2 separate regions of the Homo sapiens genome follow, and region 1 is linked to region 2. Evidence: promoter capture Hi-C in 16 types of primary human blood cells and fetal thymus (Javierre and others, 2016). All regions are on one chromosome and are shown on one strand. Each heading gives the region's core, a stretch centred on a gene start or on the middle of the fragment in contact. The rest is flanking DNA. Distances are from core to core; before and after follow the strand shown. Region 1 holds the start of TMEM11 (transmembrane protein 11). Region 2 holds the start of MAP2K4 (mitogen-activated protein kinase kinase 4).

What was found. Contacts are between HindIII fragments. The CHiCAGO score rates a contact against its expected background, and 5 or more counts as called.
Region 1: a fragment that was not itself captured here is called in contact with the fragment with the promoter of MAP2K4 in region 2 in 1 of 17 cell types (fetal thymus); the score reaches 5.8 in fetal thymus.

The regions. Positions count from the first base shown.
Region 1 is chr17:21,208,804-21,215,017 of GRCh38, reverse strand. It overlaps TMEM11 (transmembrane protein 11), which reads left to right and starts at 857. Exons shown (of 2, transcript NM_003876.3): 1 at 857-927. The coding sequence starts at 866. It overlaps TMEM11-DT (TMEM11 divergent transcript), which reads right to left and starts at 693. Exons shown (of 2, transcript NR_184102.1): 1 at 568-693. RefSeq lists enhancers at 1-85, 856-955 and silencers at 246-515, 636-775. The HindIII fragment of the contact is 571 bases long and covers 1,797-2,367 here.
Region 2 is chr17:12,019,334-12,025,557 of GRCh38, reverse strand. It overlaps MAP2K4 (mitogen-activated protein kinase kinase 4), which reads right to left and starts at 4,681. Exons shown (of 11, transcript NM_003010.4): 1 at 4,557-4,681. The coding sequence starts at 4,671. It also overlaps a transcript of ZNF18 not described here. RefSeq lists a silencer at 3,965-4,844 and an enhancer at 4,381-4,881. The HindIII fragment of the contact is 6,257 bases long and covers 3,026-6,224 here.

The sequences.
Region 1 (6,214 bases), core at 833-3,332, 9.2 Mb before region 2:
TTAGCCCCGCATCTGCCTTCAAAGATCCCGAGATTATGCCGTCGCAGCGGCCAGGGCAGGAGTGGGTGCGTGGCAGGGACTGAGTCTAAGAGGCCTGGAGGCCCTGTCTAAAACAGAGCTGTCGCTGGGCCCTCTCGCCTTCAAGCAGTTATCATACAGCTATTCCCCTTTCTTGTTTTCAGACCCTCTCCTCTAACAGCCTGCACCTGCAAGCAGGGACCTCCGTGGCAGCAGGGACAGCGTGTCTGTCTCGGCCTCCAAAGTACCCCGGAGTCTAAGAGAACTGGGGGAGGATGGTGCGGGAGCAGCGCCCGCCTCCAAGGAGGGCCCGGGCGGCGCCTCCCGCCCCTCGGTGACCTTATGGGCCAAGGCTGTGAAGGGCAGGCGTGGCGACGCGGAGGGGCCCGGCGCTAGTAGCCCGCAGACAGCGCGGCGGCCCCCAGCGGGAGAGGCAGCCTGGCGGCCAGGACAGCGCGGCCGGGCGCCTCCGCGCAGTGCTCTGGGAGTTGTAGGCACTTGCCTCTCCTCTCTCCTTCAGCTACTGGCTCTCGAAACTCAAGGACCTACCGGTGGGTGGGCGCCTGTGACTCCCAGGCTGCGAACGCCGGGAACTCAGTTTCTTCAGAAATGCTCGAACCAGGACGGCTCCTGGAGTCCTCGCGCCCTCGCAGAAGGACTACGGGCCCCGGCGACCCCGGGGGCGGGGCTTCCGGCGCGCTGCCTTGTGGGCACGGTAGTTCCGCCGGGTCTGGCTTCCGCCTGCCGAGCGGCCCCGGACCGCAGGCCGGACTACACTTCCCGTCGGCCCGCCTGCTCTCCCGATGCCGCCTTGGCGCGAGACGTTGGCAAGCAGAGTGTCTCCAAGATGGCCGCTTGGGGAAGGAGGCGTCTTGGCCCGGGCAGCAGTGGCGGCAGCGCCCGAGAGAGGTGAGATCCAAGGGCTTGTTGCCCCCAGTGCAGGCGGCTCAGCGGCCGGAGAGCCCAGCGCGGCCTCCGAGGGCTGCAGCAGCCTTCCTTCCCTGGTTTCCCCGCGCTCCCCCTACCCTCGCCGGGCATACTGGGTTCCAGTTCCGGAGGATCCGGGATCCGGGTGGGAGCGAGGTCGAAGGCCTCGGCGGAGAGCTTAGGGGAAGGGGCGTTAGCCGGGCTGAGTAAGGTAGGCAGCGGCCATGCGGGGCGGGGCCCGAGGCCGGGCCGTGCTGAAAGGAACTGGCGCCCAGCGCAGGCCTCAGGGACCCGCCTAGCTGCCCGCGGGCCGATCGGCTGCTGAAGCACCCTTCCCGCCTGGGCACGCGCGTGGCCATCTCGGCCGCGGCCCCAGACGTGTAGAGGAAGGCAGGGCCCCCGGAGAGAGAAAGAAGGGGAAGCCTTCACAGAGCAGGCCGGCCGCGGCAGGGGTAGTTTGATCTGCACGTTTACTAGGGAGCTTTAGCTCCCGCCAGATGTGTCTCTTCCGAGCCCAGAGCCGGCCACTTCCTCGAGGGAAGATTCTGAAGACTTTTGGATGGTTCTGTGCAAGCGCTCCTGCCGTAGAAGTCCTTTAAAGTGACCTTTCCTAATGAATGGTGTGTGGGCAGGGAGCTAGGAGCGTGTTTCTTCCAACAGGGACCTCCATTTGAATAACTGATTTCTAGAAGATGAGATTGGAGTAGTTTCCGTGTTTCATGTTCAAGTTGCAGTTTTTGCATCTGGGAAGCAGTTTCAGCTAGTGGAAACCACTAGAAGCTGTTCAGCCACTAGAAATTTGGGAGAAGATGTATTGGTGGAGCCACCTGGATTAACTGTCCGCTAAAGCTTGATTGTTATAGCAGCGGTCAGCAAAAAAGGAAAAGTTTTTGTTTTGCTGGTTCTCCCCCTCCCCGTCTTTTTGGTGAGGATTGTCTAACAGAAAAGTTATCTTCCTCTCAACTACTCTGCATTATTCCTTTTCTGTGACTGATTCCATCCCGTGTTCATTGCTATTGCTTGCAGATGGCTTTCCCAGCTGGGAAGATTCTTCCTGTTTGGCAGTTGTGATAGAATCCTTTAGCTTGCTTGCACTTTATTCTTTAGCCCAGTTATCCAGCGTTGCCCATTCTGCATTTCCTCTTCCTTGGAAAAGCAGTGGTAAACACACTTTTGTTTTTCTAACTCCCGCCTGGTATTAGATTGGACCATTTAAATAAGTTACCTCAATGGTTTTCAGATGCTCTTAAAAACTAGCAAACATTTTCAAGATATTCAATGCAAACAGTAATACGAAATAACCTGTTTAGAAAACAAAGTATTAGAAACATACGCCCTCTTGTTGGACTAAAAGCATCTGAAAAGAGCCGAATAGGGATGCCTCAGGCAGGGAACAGGAGCCTTGCCAGCACAGGTTAAGCTTTTATTGATCTAAGAAAATAGATGCTGAGAATTGTTTTTGTTTTGGCTTGAGACAACTGTTTATTCAAAATGGATCTGCAAATTAGCAGTGCATAGGCTGGATCCAGTCCTTGACTGTTGAACCTCAACAGTTTTTAAGAGAATTTAAATTAGTTGCCAGCAGATTTCATATAAAACGCTCCCTGAAAAGCTGGGTAGTGGCTGACTCTTTTTGGTCGGGACAAGTGCTTGGTTCCAGTTCTTGGTTCCTCACCTGACAGCTTGACTCAAATCACCTGACAGCTTGACTCAAATCACCTGTCAGCTTGACTCAATGCATTTGCCTGCTTGGTCTCTGTAGGTGTTCAGGTTGCACCTTTGGCCTGGAACTGAAGGCTCTACTCACACACGCAGATGTTGTGTGTCAGCAGGAATGTGGCATTTGGTTTTGTAGTTTGGATGTCACCATCTACTCTCCTAGATAACGTGGTATGGGTGGAGACTACCTGTCTGTTTGCTCTTGCTGTAAACCCCTAGCCAGGTTCTGTTGGAAGAGTCATTTCCCCGAGCCCAGCTTCCCTAAGCTCTTCCCATGCTGAGCAGGGGATGGAAACATAACCCGCTGTGGGGCTAGCGAGCTGACTTCTGGGCATCCCTCCATTCCTGCTCAGTTGGTGATGACTGTTCAGGTGGGGCAGGGCGGATTAGCTGATGGCCCAGCACTCTAGATTATGAGATCTGAGTGTATTATTGGCTCTTATGACTGAAGTAGGCTGTTTATGGCTCTCTAAAATGACTTTGTTCCATGTCACATTCGTGCTGACTCAAATCTCAGCTCCATGTTATACGAGTGCTCTCTCCCGTTGCTGCTCACACCTGGTTAGCATCTGCTTTTGCTGAAGCTGAGGGAAACATTATCTGGTTTGGGGAAGGGGCTAGAACAGAGTGACACTTTGGGCACACTTGCCAGATTTGCCAGCGGCTACCAACTCTGAAGCATGCATTGTACTTAAAGGTCCCACCCAGTGCCAGACTGCCTGCAGTATTACTGCCGGCGCTGTGTGTTGGATGGTCCAGTTTAGCACGTGTAGCGTGTGGGTTCTTGCTTTACCTTGTTGAGTCTAGAACCACAGCTCTAGAATTAGTGCTGAATTAACACAGCAGTTCAGTAGTCACCAGCTACATGTGGCAATTACATTTAAATTCATTAAAATTAAGTAAAATGAAGAATTCAGCTCCTCAGTCTCACTAGCCACATTTCAAGTGCTCAATAGCCACTTCCGGCCTGTGGCTACCATATTGGACAGCATAGGTGGAGGACATTTCCATCACTGCAGAAAGTTATGATATGGACAGTGCTGGTTTCGACTAAGATAGGAGGGGTGGAAATAGCAAAATGGTAGTGCTTGCATGTTGATTTTTCTCTCCACTCCATTAAATCTAGGGAACCAACAGTGTTTGTAATGAAGAACATCAGACTCTGAGCTGTAACCTGAATTCTTGTCCAAAATTCAGCACACTGGCAACGAGCACATCAAACAGATTGCCACTTGTCCTGTCGGCGTCTTTGAGACACACTTGCCCATCTAGGAAAGCACAGTGCAGGTATCTGTGTTCTGCCACCGTGTGCCAGCCCGGACCAGCTCACAGACAGCCCTGCCTGTCTTACTTGGGCTGCTCGGCTTCACTGTCTCAGGGCCCCTGAACCTCCCAGAGCCCTCCGTGATTGTTGGAATGTGAGTATAGCTGTGTGCTCTTGAGTTCCTGTTTTTATAATCACGTGAAGATGTACTTGATCTGCTTCTGAGCATGATATGAGGCAACCTGGGGTGTGCAGAGGGCCAGATGCACGGGGCTAAAAGTTCAGGTTTAGCGCGAAGTTATTTGTTGTGGCCTGCCCCTCCCCTGGCTTGCGCGGCCATCTGCTCCAGCGTTTTATAGGCAGCCAGTTCCCTGGGCTGACTTTCATGGCTTTCCTTGCCATGCTTTATTCCCCAGGACCTGTCCTCTTCTTTGTGAACTCAGGTGTGCCTGGTCCCAGGTGGCCCTTACACGTTCATCCAGTGAGCAGATGGAGCACAGGCCCCGGGGGCAGGTTGGGTCATGGTCCCGGGGTGACAGCTTCCCTTTCTGATCTGATCCTTCCCTTTTAGACTCTCAGGCTTTGGGAGTATTTAATCTCTCTTGAAAGACTCCATGCTTGCTTTTGTGTGTGGCGGGAGTTTTTGTTTCCTTCTGGCTGGGATGAGATGAGCAGATACGGGATCTGCACCCAAGTGTGTGGGGGTTTAGCCACTGGTTGTGGGATTCTGCTCAGCTCTTTAACAAAGGCAAAGCCACATGTTCTGGCCGCAGAAGTTGGATTCGTAGGTAAGGATGGGGTTCATCCTCTTCAGTATTGATGTGCCTTCAAGTTTTCAAGAATTTCTGTTTTCCTTGGTTCACTCAAGCAGCCTGGATTCCAAGTGCATTAATTTGTGTCTCAGTGGTTCAGTCCTTTAGGTCATGTTCCAGGGAAGGCTCCCCTTTCTGAAGAGGGGAGGGCTGCGCCTGGGTCCACGGAGGTGGGGAGGTGGCTCCTCTGCCCCGGCTTGTCGGTGTGCACCTGTTCTTCAATGAGCGAGGTGCGGGGGGTGGAGTTGGGCAGCACTCCATGACCGAGCACACCCGGGAACCTCCTGACTGCCACGGTGTTCCGCCCTGGTGCCAGCAGCCACTTTATGGGCACAGTTCTCAGGAAAAGCTGACAGCCATGTAGTAGTCATAACAGTTCTTCAGAGCAGGGCTGTCCAGTAGGAGTTTCTGGCATGACAGACTCCTGGCGTGTCCCTGCAGTCCATTAGGGCAGCCATTAGCCACGTGTGGCTCTGAGGAACTGAGGTTTCATTTATTTATTTATTTTATGAGACAGGTCTGGCTCTGTCACCCAGGCTGGAGTGCAGTGGTATGATCTCGGATCTCTGCAACCTCCGTCTCCCTGGCTCAAACCATTCTCCCACCCCAGCCTCCCGAGTAGCTGGGACCACAGGCATGTACCACCACGCCCAGCTCATTTTTGTATTTTTTGTAGAGGCAGAGTTTTCACCATGTTGTCTAGGCTGGTCTTAAAATTTGTGGGCTCAAGGAATCCACCCGCCCTGGCCTCCCAAAGTGCTGGGATTACAGGCGTGAGCCACTGTGCCCGGCCAGGAACTGAATTTTTTAAGATGTCTAATTTTAATTAATTTAAATTTCAACAGCCACATGTGTCTTAGGCAGAGGGGCAGTGCTTGGCGACTGTTCCCATCTTCACTGCAGTCCTCTGGGAGAGCCAGGGCCTCTGGCCCCGTTTGACAACATGGGAAACTGGCTCAGAGGGGCCGGGTGTTTTGCCCTAGGACACAAAGCCAGTAGGCAGCCGAGAGGGAACTTGAATCCACCCTCTCGACTCCCACACTTGGTGCGCCGTGTTCCTGCTCCCCAGATAGAAGGGCTGCTGAGTTACCAGTGCGCAGAATAGGAAAGTGTCCTCTGAAGCAGACGAAAGGGCTGGGTGTCCTGTGAAAGTTCCTTGGCCTGTGGGAGCCGTCCTCAGGCCATGGGGCCGCATGCCCGTGCCTTTGAGTCTGGGGCACGGGCTTTCACTGCTTCAGTCCTCTGCTTTCTGTGGGTCCCAAAGAAGCAGGGCTTAATTAGGCAGAAGCGGGTGGAGGTCCAGCCCAGCACCTCCTGTATCATAGGTGATCAAGTGACCCTTTCACTAAGTGAAAAGCAGCCTGACGGATGGGTTGACTTTTCTGGTACCAGTTCTCTTAATAACCATAATTGTTTTTCTCCTCCTGTGACTCCTGTGGCTCATGTCTGTAATCATTACAAATGTCCCTCCAAC
Region 2 (6,224 bases), core at 3,432-5,931:
TGTAACAAGTATTTTACAAATGGCTCAATGTTTTTCTGAATCAATTATAGATTCTATTCTAACCATTTTAAGAAAACATCTATTGAAAACTGACATTTCTCAGCTAAGCGATCTTTGAAATCTATTACATTTTAAGTGATTAGTAGCTACAGCAGGCAAATAATCATGTCTAATAACAATCTGTATATACTTATAGATATTCTATAATTTTCAAAGCACTTTCACATGCATTAAGAATGTGATTCTTACAATGGCCCTACAGGTTAGGCATTATCCCTATTTTAACAGATGAGAAATTTCTGAACAGAGAGTTGAGAAAAGTTAGGGAATTTCCCTAAAATCTCAGTGTTTGTAAACAGCAGAGCAGTTACCTTAACCATGGTTTTCTGAGTCTAAGTCCAGTGCTCTTTACACTTCAACATCCTTTTGTTTCTTAAACATTACTACATGCTATGGGAACGCTAGCTGCTACAGCTACTACTGGAAAAGGAATCATCCTGCCTATGCAATTTCATTATAGAAGCTGTTGAATTCTCAACTGGCAAGCTCTATTAATCAGAATATGCTATTCTCTAACATGCCAACCATACTATCTAGTACTATTTGCTATACATATCTAAGATTAATTACCTGGTATAACGGGATCTTCTCTTTACAGGATTCACACTAACCCAGCTAAAGTCACGAGGCTTTAGATTTGCCACAAGGGAAAGCCCTAGCCATGGCTAGGAAGGTTCTTGAATGCTACAAGTCAATTCCGTACTTTAGGTTGGCTAAAATTTCTTGGACTAAAGAATAATACTTTTCCACAGAATGAGGCCCTAATATGCAAGAAATTTTCCTATTAAATCTATCTACATTAACAAATTATTGATGAAACATTAAGAATAAAAACATTTCTCAGAGTAGTTAATTTGAGTATTGTTTCCTCTCTCAAATGCAAACTCATCCTAATGCCAAATATACTTTCATAAAACCACTTACCTAACTTGGCAAACAGATCTACATTTTGTTAGCTTTAGTCATCAAAGAACCAAAGCCTAAGAACTACTCAACGTATAAAGGTTGGGTGTGTTTGTGAATGAACATGAAAAAAAAATGAGTCAGAATGAGTGAAGACACTCAAATCTTTTGAGTAATAACAAAATTAGCAGCTATTCCCTATTATCTGAGGGACAGTGGCAAAAATGGCCAGATTAGAAGCCATAACTGTTAGCATAAACATGCAACCAAAGCTACGTCTGTTGATTACTCTTATAATCAAATTCACTATAAATCCCATTCCAACCATCTACCCATCCCCTATGAAAAAAATGAGTAGAGCAAATTGATAGCTAGACTTCTGTTTCATATCGTTCACATTGTAATTCATTTGAGAGTCCTCAGATCCAGAAAAAAACAGATCCGGAGTTTGAAGTAGAATAAAATCTCATCTAGGATACTCTGAAAGGACTGCTCAATAATGAAAAGTGGGGAAATCAACAGGTTAGAGAGAACAGTGGGACCTAGTAATATGAACTAAAGAAATTGTGTGGTAAATAATGAGAGGTTAGGGACTCATTTACCAATAGTAAAAGGGACCATTAATGAGACCATAACAATATTGTCGCTACTAACAATGATGGCTAATGTGTATTGCATCCTTACTACATGTCAGGTCCCAGGCTTACATGCATTCTCAAAGCCACCGGGGAGGTAAGCGTTATTCCCACTTTCCAAGTGAGAAACTGAGGCTTCGAAAGGCCAAGTTCATTGCCCCTGGTCACAAAACGCATATCTGAATCCTGGCCAAGAGATTCAAACCCAGAACTCCAGAGCTCTGGTTCTTAAGCAGTATATTAAGAAAGCAATATTGGCCAGCCTGGACCACTCTTGGGCCATAAACATGAAGCCATGAAAAAGTATTCAAGGTTATCCAGTGCCCACCACAGTGCTTACCACATAAGAGGATGTCCAATGTCTACTGCATGAAACATTCCTTATGTTCCACAACTGAATCCTGCTGTTTCAGAGAGCATGGTCATTAACAACTCCCAGAAAGGAAGTTTTTTGAGTGGCAAGTATAATTAGATTGGGGGAGAAGGAATGGAAGTACATCAAACATCTTCTAAGGCCCACTCTGTGAAGTCTGATCTAAAGCAAAAGAAGACCCTTGGCAGATGAAGTACAGTATGGGAGGTGTGACTCCCATACAATTGGATGGGAATCTTTCTTTTTGGGTTCTTATAAGATTTCCTCTTCAAGGGCCTCACAATTAAGATACAGAACAAAACAAACCAAAAAGAAGGATCCTAAATTGCTGCTTAAGTTCAAGCTTTATAACAGACTGTTCTAGACAACATCCTGAGAATATCAAGCACTTCATTCTGACTAATGAAAAAAGTTTCAAGAACAAGATATAACACATTCCTGAATCAATCAAGACTAGACACAATATTGATAAAAAAGAAAATTCGGCAATAATTCATAGAGAGGTCTTAGGTCCTTTTTCCTTCTAAAATGGGTTCTGCTTATTAGAAAGTTTAGTTAACTGGGTATCAACATACAAGGGCTGAGGAGAACGGACAGCATCAGAAAAAGTCCTAACCACTGCCTTAGGAGTTCCTAGAACACTCCAAGCTCTTCCCTGCTTTGGAACCTTCATACACACAGTTCCTCTGCCTAGAACCGTCTTCAGGTAAAAGAGGGTTAGCTTTCCAGACAAGCCTTCTCTGACCATCTTATCAAGCGGACTGCCCTCTATTATCTTCTATCACAAAACCCAGCTTGTTACCTTTATTACTTTTCCAACTAGTAATTTTTCATGTTTAGCTAAATAGCCTTCCCTCCCCCATCTTCACAGGGGGATAACCTCCATGAGGACAGTTAGAGATGTTCAATTCTCTATAAACTCAGCATGAGCGTTTTATGCAGATGCTCAATAAATATTTTTTGAACCAAAAAAACACACTGTATCCAGCTATTTCAAACTGTCAGCCTCCCCACCAATAAAACAAACAAACAAATCACCTTGTTTTTATAAGCTTTGTAAGTCACCCATCTGGAACAAGAAATACAATCCTAAATTGTCATTTTGCCATTTCATTTCGCCCCAACCACCACCACCTAAATTGTAAAGCTGTACAGTCAGGAAGTCAATCTTATACTTCATCAGTATAATGTGCTGTGCAACACAGTGGGCATCCAATAACTAATTCAATTTGAATGAATTATCTGAGGGCCTGCACAGAAAGTGTCCTCTAAGCTCTGACATCATCCTGTCTATATATCTATCACTGGTTTTTATGTATATTAAAATTATTTCATGGGGAGGGTGACAGGGATGTAAAGATAAATAAAATCCTGTCTCTTCTTTCTGAATTATGGCATGCTCTATAAACATGAACTATTCAATAAATGTCTGTTGAACCTAACTAAATGCTAGAAGCCCTTTAAGAGGAATGGAATCAAAAAGTAACCATGGTCACACTGACTACCAAGGGTACCCCAACCCTTATTCTGTTAATAATTCAACACAAGCAGTTTGCTAAAGTTGTCAAGAGAGTTCTGAGATTCCCTGTTTTAAAAATAGCATTACTACTCAAAATTCCCCAGTAAATTTAAGGAAATGGTCCCTAACAGGCTCGGGCCTGGCCTGGTATTTTCACAACACCCCCTGTCAAAAGCCATACACAGCTAATAAGCATTCCCAGTGGGGAAAGTCATTAATTAGCAGAGCTGCCTCAAATGTCCAGACACTACAGTATCACTTTGACCCCTGTCTATTTCCTGTATCTCTCCATTTAAACCAAATTAAGTCTTCTTTTTTTTTTTTTTTTTTTTTCTTCCTGCACGCAATGCTAACACAGAAATCCCTGGCCTGGAACAAAATGCCTCTCCCAGGCCAATGCAGCCTACCTACCTTACAGGTGGCACAGGCCTGGGCAACCCGCCCCCCACCCCCATCCCTTCCAGCGCACAGAAACCCTGCAAAAGTTTGAAAACGCAGGTTCCAAGAGGCCCCCGTAGCCCGAGGTCAGCTCGGTGGTCCGGCTCCAGCTGTGCCCGGCGACAGCCAAGATGGCCCTGAGCGGGGCCCACTGCGGCGGCGGGGCCGAGGGGCGCCGGCCGGGGCCGCTGTCTTCGCCGCCTACCTGAGCGGCGTCAGGGACCAGGGGGCAGGCCCGACGCCCCTCCCGCTCCGCCGCAGCCCCGAGCCGGCGCGTTCCCGGAAACGGGGGCCGGGCGGGCGCCAGGTAAGCGGCGGGGGCGATGGGGACGGCCGCGGGGGCGGTCCCGGACCAGGTGGGCCCTGCGGGCCTGCTGAGAGCCCGGTAGGGCCCAGGGGCCAAGCGCAGGCAGAGGCCGCGGCCGGGGCCTATGCGGGCCGGAGCCCGGATCCAAGCCGGGCCGGAGGCGGCCGGGAGCGGGGCGGGAAGCCGGGGAGGGAGAGAGGGAGAAGCCGGCGGCTGCCGTGGCTTCCTCAGCCGGGTCCGGGGGCGTCCGCTGGGGCAGGCCGCGACGACGCGGGTTGCCGCGCTAGGGGGCTGGGATCTCGGCGCGGCCGCGTTCCTTACCCTGCATGCTGCTGACGGCCGGGTGGCCTGGCGCCGGGGACCCTACGGGGCCGGGGGTGCCGCTGCCGCTGCCGCCCCCGGAGCCGCCGCCGCCGCTCGGGCTCGGAGCCGCCATTGTTGGGAGTGAAGAGCCGAGCGGCGCCGCGGCGGCTGCAATGCAGCAAGCTCGGCCTCTCGCACGGCCGAGGGGCGAGGCTTACCCCCGCCTTGGCCCCGCCTCCGACACGCCCCGGACACGCCTCCTGACACGCCCCCGCCAGAGCCCGACGCGCAGCCCGGGCCAGATGCTGAGCTGCAGAACCGCCCGGCTCTGGGTGCGCGACCTGTGAAGCAGACAGCTGTCTTGGACCAGGGCTGCGGGCCCGCGGGGCCTAAAGTGGTTTGCAGAATTAAAGGTGGGCCTGCATTTGTGCGGAAAGAAGGTACGCAGCTTTCATCATTCCCATGGAGGTCTGTGACTCCCAAAAGTCCACTTTGTTGGAATCTCAGAACCCCAAATCAGAATAGTAAAGCTGAAAAGGATCCCAGGGATCCCTTTCTCCTCCAGTCGCTAACACATCACTTCCAGAAGGGAGTTACCTAGAGCTATGGTTACAGTCTGGAACTCCTCTTAAGCCCAATACCCCAACCCTCTACACTTCTCTGAGGGGAAAGGGGAGTCCCAAGGGGAACTAACCAAAGTGCTGTCCATGGACCCATCCCAAAACTACTGAATTAGAGGTTACATTTTAATAATACCACCAGGTAATTTGTATGCCCATTAAATTTGAGAAGCATATATTTAAGCACTCGACACTTCCCAGCCTCCTGAAATATGCTATCTACATCACCATCTTCCCCTAAATGCACACTGGATTCCCTCTCCCAAATCCTTTACATCTTGTATAAGACGAGCCGTAGTCATTATTGTAAGTTACATAAAATGACAACCCCAAAAAACAATATGAGGTTTCTTCCATTGCTTTGCACAGAGACTTTTATTTTAGGAAGACAGTAGCTAAAAGAAGAAAAAGTTCTCTATGAGGCTACGATTTGTAAGCCAACCATAATGTACTCGAAATGGTAAGACATGGGTTTCTGGCCAGGCAGCCTTGCCTAAAATGGAATAGCCAGTTATCCTACTTCCCAAAGAATCTAAGCCATGGAGCTGGACATTTTCTCCCATTTAGAAGCATTGTGTGATCTACAGCTAGACTTCTTTCCCAAAACTTCTTCCACCCAGATGTTATTTGATGCTGAGAGTTCTTCACAGCATGTTGGAAATGTGTCCTGGGTCAAAATAGCCCTGCCTTCTTGTTCCAAACCCAATTTCATCCATCATCTTGATGGCTCAGATCCTAAAAGTGGCTAGCCGTAAACATCAAGTGGAGAGGCATTAAAGGCAAATTGAAGGTGAGAGCAGGTAGGTGTACTTCAGTGGAGAGCCCGCCAGAATTCTCCTCCATGGGCCTCGTTGGCTGCCCAATATCTTCAAGTCCAGGTCTTATAAACATGGCCAGATTCCCATCTGGAAATCAGTAGCCCACCCAGCTCTTGTTGCTCCTAGGGCATCTTAATTATGAGCCATCATAACTGGCCTTTAATAAGAATTTAATATATATTCTTTTAATAGAAATCCTAGAAGCAGCACTACAGATTAGGCAACTACTAGAAAATTAATTTAAACAC